Linked DNA regions of Homo sapiens: region 2 is linked to region 1. Evidence: promoter capture Hi-C in 16 types of primary human blood cells and fetal thymus (Javierre and others, 2016). All regions are on one chromosome and are shown on one strand. The core of a region is centred on a gene start or on the middle of the fragment in contact, and the rest is flanking DNA. Distances in the headings are between cores, read along the strand shown.

The links. The method cuts DNA at HindIII sites, captures the fragments that hold promoters and counts their contacts. A CHiCAGO score of 5 or more calls a contact.
Region 2: a contact is called between a fragment that was not itself captured here and the fragment with the promoter of NEXMIF in region 1, in 1 of 17 cell types (naive CD8 T cells). The highest score is 6.0, in naive CD8 T cells.

Annotation. Positions count from the first base shown.
Region 1 is chrX:74,923,340-74,927,107 of GRCh38, reverse strand. It overlaps NEXMIF (neurite extension and migration factor), which reads left to right and starts at 1,656. Exons shown (of 4, transcript NM_001008537.3): 1 at 1,656-2,225. RefSeq lists a silencer at 2,618-2,777. The HindIII fragment of the contact is 8,655 bases long and covers 1-3,171 here.
Region 2 is chrX:76,241,295-76,245,058 of GRCh38, reverse strand. It overlaps the pseudogene RNU6-867P. Among named protein-coding and RNA genes, the nearest start is that of PBDC1, 70 kb to the right of the region's middle. The HindIII fragment of the contact is 4,264 bases long and covers 1-3,764 here.

The sequences.
Region 1 (3,768 bases), core at 407-2,906:
ATCCCTATCCTCAGGACACATATACCTAACTTCCTTGTGACTCGATTTTCTCATTTGTAAAATGGAGATAGTAAAATTGTGTTTGTTGTGAAGATTAAATAATTCATGTAAATTGCTTAGCACAGTGTCTGGCACATAGTAAGGACCCAATAAGTATAATTATTTCAGGATGAGCTATTATTTATGGATGAGTTTCATAGATATAAAATGAGAGGGAGAAATAACAAGAGTGTTTCAAGCAAGTGGGATGACAGAAACAAAGGCACAGAGATGGGGAGTTGTAAAAGCCATACAGACAGTTTATTGTCCAGGAATGAAAGACCCATGGTAGAGCGCCTCAAACTTGGTAAAGTGACCCAGACCTTATTGTCAATGGGATATCTGGAACATTTATCTCCTGTACTTTGCCAGGGAAAAGAAAATATACCCCCGCCTCTGCACTGTTTCTGGGGAGGGATTGTGTGACAGGTGATGGTGAGAAGTTGCACACATCAGATCTCAAAGCCTGAGCCCTCGTAGCAAAATGACGCTGTAGCTGTGGCAGCAAAGAAATCTGAAATGAGGCCCTGCCTGACTGGAGAAGCTGTGCTTTGGCAATGATGTTGGAGCAAGTGCACACAAAGTAGCTACTTTTACCCCTTCTGTTCTAGTACCAACCTTTTCATCTCTTGCCTTGGCTCCTAGTGGTGACAAATCTCCCGAGGCTCAGGCCTCAACCTTGCACCCAGGACTCCAGAAGTACTAAATGGTCCCTCCTGAGTTGCTCTCCAATCGTTTTGCTGTTTCCTGTTGAGTTCCCAGGACGTCTGAAGGAAAATGACCACCTAAGAGATTTTTCAATGACAGCCATCAGGCAGATCTGTTTTCCTTCCTGGCCATATTCAGCTTCCCTTCTTTCCTTTATTCCCCAAACGTCACTCCCCAATTGTCTGCCTTCATCCAACCCTTCAAAAAGGACCCACCTTCCTGGGGGCCCAGGCCCTTAAGTTAAGAGTAGGTAAAGGTTGAATGGTTAGATGCTTGGTGGATGAAACCATTCAAATATTCTTCCCCAAACTTCAGAGTGCCCCTCTCCGCACACACAACTGCCCTAAAAGGCATGGGAGAGTGGTGTCCGGTTGCGTGTCTGCCAGGGGAAGAACGCACCACTGGCGTAGTGGACTGGAAGGGCAGCAGGAACGCGAGTGGGGGGCGGGGTGGGAATGGGGAAGGGGGGTGCGCGCCCTTTATGACAGGTGGCCGCGCAGTGCGCGCTCCCGGGCGCCCGAGGGGAGGGAAGGACAGACGGACAGAGTTGGGGGGGCACATAAGGAAGGGACCATAGAGAGGGTAAGGAGAGCGGGAGGGAAAGGGAGAGCTGTGGTGGGGAAGAAGGGTAGAGGGGGGAAGGCGTCCAGCAAGAACAGCCGTGTTGGAGGAAACAATGGCAGGGGCAACAGCGATGGTGGCAGCAGAGGCGGCCCCACTCTGGGCACCTTTCTGAATGGGCAGAGACAGCTCCGGGAGAAGAGGGGACCAGGCAGTGCCTGCAGAGGCTCTGAGAAAAGCGGCAGAGGGAGGAGAAGAGGGAGGAGGAAGAGAAGGAGGAGGAGGAGTAGGAGGAGGAGGAGGAAGGGGGAGGAGGGGGGACGAGGCAGGGGAAGAACCTGGGAAGGAAAACCAGTAGCATCAGCAGCAGCAGCAGCAGCCGCCGCCGCCACCACCGCCGCCACAGCAGTAGCATTAGCGGCAGTAGCAGCATTTAGCAATAGCTTTAACAGCTATAGCGACAGTAGCAGCCGCCCTCCTCTCTCCCTCTCGCGGACGGCCGCAGCCACCGCACAGAGCGGGCTCCAGGCGCCGAGCGCGCAGCCCGCTCGCTAGGTAGCTCCAGCCGGGGCGAGCGACAGTGTAAGCGAAGCACGGACCCTTGGAGCAGCCGGGCAGCCGCGGAGGCTCTGAGTTTCAGGGCCAGAGCCCGACAGCTCTGACTCCATCTAGCGCGGCGGCGGCGGAGCCTGAGGGAGCGAGCGAGGAGAGAGGCGCGTCCACCTGGCGGGCCCAGCGTATGGAGCTGAGGCAGAGGCGGCGGCGGCGGCGGCAGCAGTAGCAGCGGCGGTGGCGGCTAAGGCAGCTCGAACAGCTGCGGCGACGGCGACAGCCCAGCCTTGACTGCGACCGCGCTAGCTACAGCGCCTGCTGCCTGAGCCCGCCAGCGACGTGCGCCTCGGGAGTCGGCCTGTGAGGTGAGTAGGAGCGCTGCCATACAGCTTCCTGGCCTTCTCGCCGGCTCCCCGGCTGGCTCGGGGTGGCGGCCGCAGGGGGTGGAATGAACTGGGGTAAGTCGAGCTAGACGAGAAGGAAGGGAAAACGGAACGGAGGACGTCTGTATGCGAATGTGTGTGTCTGTGTATGAGGGAGCGAGGCCGCTAGGGCGAGAGATCCCGGCTCGCCCTGACAGGCACTGCAATCTAGGAAAGGCCTCTGTGCTTGCGCCGTAGGAAGGGGGTTGCGGGGGGAGGGGAAGCGAGCGGACCGGAGCCGCCGCGCTTACACGCACGCAGCTCGGCAGAGTGCCGCCTCCTTTCGGACTGGTGCAGGGTAGAGCCTGGCCAGGGAATGGGGCATGGGCATGGCACGCTTCGGCGAGAGCGGGAAAACCCACGCGGCGGCCGAGGCCGGGCGCTCGGACCAAAGCCGCAAAGGTGCGAAGCCGGGCGGCCGTGGCGACCACAGAGCGCCCCCAGGACACGCGCCACTCGGCCGAGGCTGCGGACAGGTTTAAGTTGGAGGCCAGACCGAGCCTCGCCCAGCTCATCTCCTTTGCGGAAATTGGCTTGTGGCCCCTTCGCGCTCTCGGTGGCGGTCGAATTGACGCTTTTCTGTGTGGCTTCTGGCGCTTCTCTCTGCCGCGCCCCGCAGCACACGTCGGCTCGCGTCTTGTACACCCTGTAGGGCGGGAAGGCCGTGAGCCGGCGCGGGGAGCGGAGTCCCGCTCCGGGAAAGTGTGGAAACCGCGCTGCTGAGTTGGCGCCGTTCCGCTGAGGAATTCAGCGATTTCAGCATGACTGCTTCTGTCTGTCTGATTCGTGAGGGACCGAATCACCCGCGCAAGGTTTTCTGTCTTTTTCGAAGTTAAAAAAAAATTGGCATCCCCATTTCGACAACAGCACTCTTGATTTTTATCAAGCTTCTGGTTGCATTTTGGAATAAGTGGGTCTCATATTTTGCTTCTGGATCTTGGCTCCCAGCATATTGTTGAATGCTGTGCACAGCACTACATTTAGATATGTGGCCTTTTTCTAATGTTGCATTTTCTAGACTGTTATCTGAAAAGACATGATTTGTGTTGTAGGGCTGGCAGGGCTGTTTTTAAAAATGTCTAAAGCACTTTAATCCCGGGATTTGAATATATCCTTGGTTGTTTTTGGTGGAGGAGTTCCTGGAATATTTTGCTTGGTGAGAAAAGGTGCTGTAATGGTCTTCTCTGAACTCCTTACGACCATTTGTGTTTTGGAGGGGTGAATCTCCCTTACATCTTTTACACATGAGGTAACATATGACCAAACGTTTTATTTACAGCAGTGACGTTCTTATGGCTGAGGAGAATTTACACTTATTGAAAAAATATTTTTAGAAGGGAACAAAAAAGTCCTAAGTAACTGTCATTTTACATATTAACTGGGAAACCGGCTAATCAAATAAAACTGGCTGAGTGTCTGAAACTCTATCCCAGTGAAATATGTGGCTGTGAATATAATTAACCATCTGTCTAGTGAGCAATTTAAA
Region 2 (3,764 bases), core at 460-2,959, 1.3 Mb before region 1:
TCAAAAATTTGCATGTCATGCTTGCACAGGGCTCATGCTAACGTTCTCTTTATCGTTTCTATTTTAGTATATGTGCTGCTGAAGTGAGCACTCTGCTGTATTCTTTATTTCCTTCCTTCTACTAACTTTGACAGTAGTTTTTTCTTCTGTTTCTAGTTCCTTCACATGTAATGTTAGCTGGTTTATTTAAGCTATCTTTTAATGTAGAAATTTATTGCTATAAATTCTCTTAGAACACCTTTTGCAGCCTTTTGAAAGTTTTGGTATATGGCCCTTTAAGTTTTCTTTGTCTCAGGATATATATATATACATATATATCCTGAGACAGAGTCTCGCTCTGTCACCCAGGCTGGAGTGCAGTGGCGCGATCTCTGCTCACTGCAAGCTCCGCCTCCCAGGTTCACGCCATTCTCCCGCTTCAGCCTCCCGAGTAGCTGGGACTACAGGCGCCTGCCACCACGCCCGGCTAATTTTTTGTATTTTTAGTAGAGACGGGGTTTCACCGTGTTAGCCAGGATGGTCTCGATCTCCTGACCTTGTAATCTGCCCGCCTCGGCCTTCCCAAGTGCTGGGATTACAGGCGTGAGCCACCGCACCCCGCCGATTCAAGATATTTTTAAGTTTCTCTTTTAATTTCTACCTTGATAGATCGGTTGTTCGGAAGCACGTTGCCGGGCGCGGTGGCTCGGGCCTGTAATCCCAGCACTTTGGGATGCCGAGGCGGGCGGATCACGAAGTCAGGAGATCGAGACCATCCTGGCTAACACGGTGAAACCCCATCTCTAATAAAAACACAAAAAATTAGCCGGGCATGGTGGCGGGCGCCTGTAGTCCCAGCTACTCAGGAGGCTGAGGCAGGAGAATGGCGTGAACCCCGGAGGTGGAGCTTGCAGTAGGCAGAGATCACGCCACTGCACTCCAGACTGGGCAACAGAGCAAGACTCAGTCTCAAAAAAAAAAAAAAAAAAAAAGATAAGAGAAAAAAAATTATTTTGTGGACTAATAAATAATTTAACATTTATCCTGGAGAATGTTTTATGTATATTTGAAAATAATGTGTTTTATTCTTCAACTGGATAGAATTTTCTGTATATATCTGTTAGATTCATTTGGTCTAAAGAGTAGTTCAAGCGTGCTGACTACATATTGATTTCTCTGTTTGGTTTTTCCATCCATTTTGTTTCTTTTTCTTTTTTGTTTTTTGTTTGTTTGTTTTTTGAGACAGAGTCTCGCTCTGTCACCTAGGCTGGAGTACTGTGACATGATCTTGGCTCACTGCAACCTCTGCCTCCCGGGTTCAAGCAATTCTTGTGCCTCAGCCTCCTGAGTAGCTGGGACTACAGGCATGTGCCACCATGCCCAGCTAGTTTTTGTTTTTTTTTTTTTTGTATTTTTTGGGAGAAATGGGGTTTTTACATGTTGGCCAGGCTGGTCTAGAACTCCTGACTTCAGGTGATCTGCTCACACTGGCCTCCCAAAGTGCTGCGATTACAGGTGTGAGCCACTCCACCTGGCCACTATCTGTCCATCTCTTAAAAGTGGGGTATTGAAGTCCCCTACTATTATTTTATTGCAGCCTGTTTCATCCTTTAGATCTACTGTCAGCTTTATATATTTTGGTTCTCTGATGTTGTGGGCATACATATTTACAATTGTTACATTTTCTTGATGAATTATATGAATTATGTCATTATATAATGATGTACTTTGTATCTTTTTAATCTTTTTTACTTAAAGTCTATTTTATTTGATGTGGGTATAGCTATCTTTGATCTCTTTTTGTTTCGATTTGCATGGAATCGTTTTCCATTCCTTCACTTTCAGTACATGTGTATCCTTAAAGATGAAGCAAGTTTGTTGTAGGCAGCATTCTTATTTTCTTCTTTAATCCATTCAGCCACCATGTATCTTTTGACTGAAGAACTTAATCCATTTAAACTCAAGTTAATTATTGATAATAAGGACTTACTACTACCATTTTATTAAATATTTTCTGGTTGTTTTATAAATCTTTCGCTATTTTGTTTCTGTACTCTTGTCTTCCTTTGTGATTAGATAATTTTCTGGAGTAGCGCTTTAATACCTTAATTTCTCTCTTTTTTGTACTTCTTATAGATTTTGCTTTGCAGTTACAATGAGGCAAACATAAAATAATTTATAACTATGACAGATCATTTTCAGCTAATGAGAACTGAATTTGACTAGCATACAAAACTACACTTTTACTCTCCTTTCACGTTTTCTTTTTGATGTCACAATTTCTATCTATATTGTGTATCTCTTACAAATTACTGTAGCTATTATTTTTCTAATAATTGTGTATTTTTAACCTTCACACTAAATATATAAGTGATTTACACAGACCATTGCAGTATTAGAGTATTCTGAATTTGATTATATACTTACTTTTACCCATGAGTCTTATACTTTCATGCTTTAAAGTTTCTCAGTAGTTTCTATTTCTTTCAGCCTGAAGAACTCCCTTTAGCATTTCCTCCAAGGCAGGTATAGTGGGAATGACCTAACTAGGCTTTTGTCTCAGAGATTTTTTTTTTTTTGAACAAGGTCTCACTCTGTCATCCAGGCTGGAGTGTAGTGGTGCAATCACAGCTTACTGCATCATTAACCTCCCAGGCTCAGGTGATCTTCCCACCTCAGCATCCTGAATAGCTGAGACTACAATCATGCTCCACCATGTGCAGTAAATTTTTCTGTGTTTTCCTTTTGTGAAGACAGGGTTTTGTCATGTTGCCAAGGCTGGTCTTGAATTTCTGGGCTTAAGCAATTCACCCACTTCAGCTTCCTAAAGTGCTGTGATGATAGGTATGAGCCACCATGTCTGGTCTCAGAAAGTCTTTATCTCTTCTTCACCTGTGGGGAACAGCATTTTGGGGTAAATTATTCCTGGTTGGCAGGGTTTTCTTTCAGTATCATGAATGTATCATCCAACGCTACTGACTTTTAAGGTTTCTGTGCAGAAATCAGCATATTAACATTTCTTTCTGTGTGATTTTTTAACTATTCCTCCTTTCATGATTCTCTCTCGCATTTGATTTCTGATAGTATGATTGTTAACATGATTGGTGTAGTCTTGTTTGGATTGAACATAATAGGAGATTGTTCAGTTACATCTATATATTTCCCCAGATTTGAAAATGTTTATAATGTTATTTCTTCTTTTTAATTTTTTAAGTTTTGTGGGTAAATATTGGTGTATATATTTATAGGGTACATAGGATGCTTGGATATAGGCATGAAAAAAGTAATAATCACTTCCCGCTAAATGAGATATTCATCACCTCAAATATTTATCCTCTGTGTTGCAAACAATCCAATTGTACTCCTTTAGTTATTTTTAAATGGACAATTACATAATTATTGACTATAGTCACACTGTCGTGCTATCAAATATCAGGTCTAATAATATTTTGATTTTTGATATATCAAATATCAGGTCTAATAATATTTTGCTTGATTTTCACATATGTCAAGAGATAGGGGTCTATTTTAATTCTTCTGCACATAGATATCCAGTTTTCCCAGCACCATTTATGGCGAGACTGTCTTTTTGCAATGTATGTTCCTGGCAACTTTCTTGAAAAAGAGTTAACTCTAGGTGTATGGATTTGTTTCTGGGTTCTATTCTGTTCCATTATTCTGTGTACCTATTTATATGCCAGTTCCATGTTGTTTTGGTTACTGTGGCTCTATAGTAGAGTTTGAAATCAGGTAATGAGAGTCCTCCAGTTTTTCTTTTTCTTTTT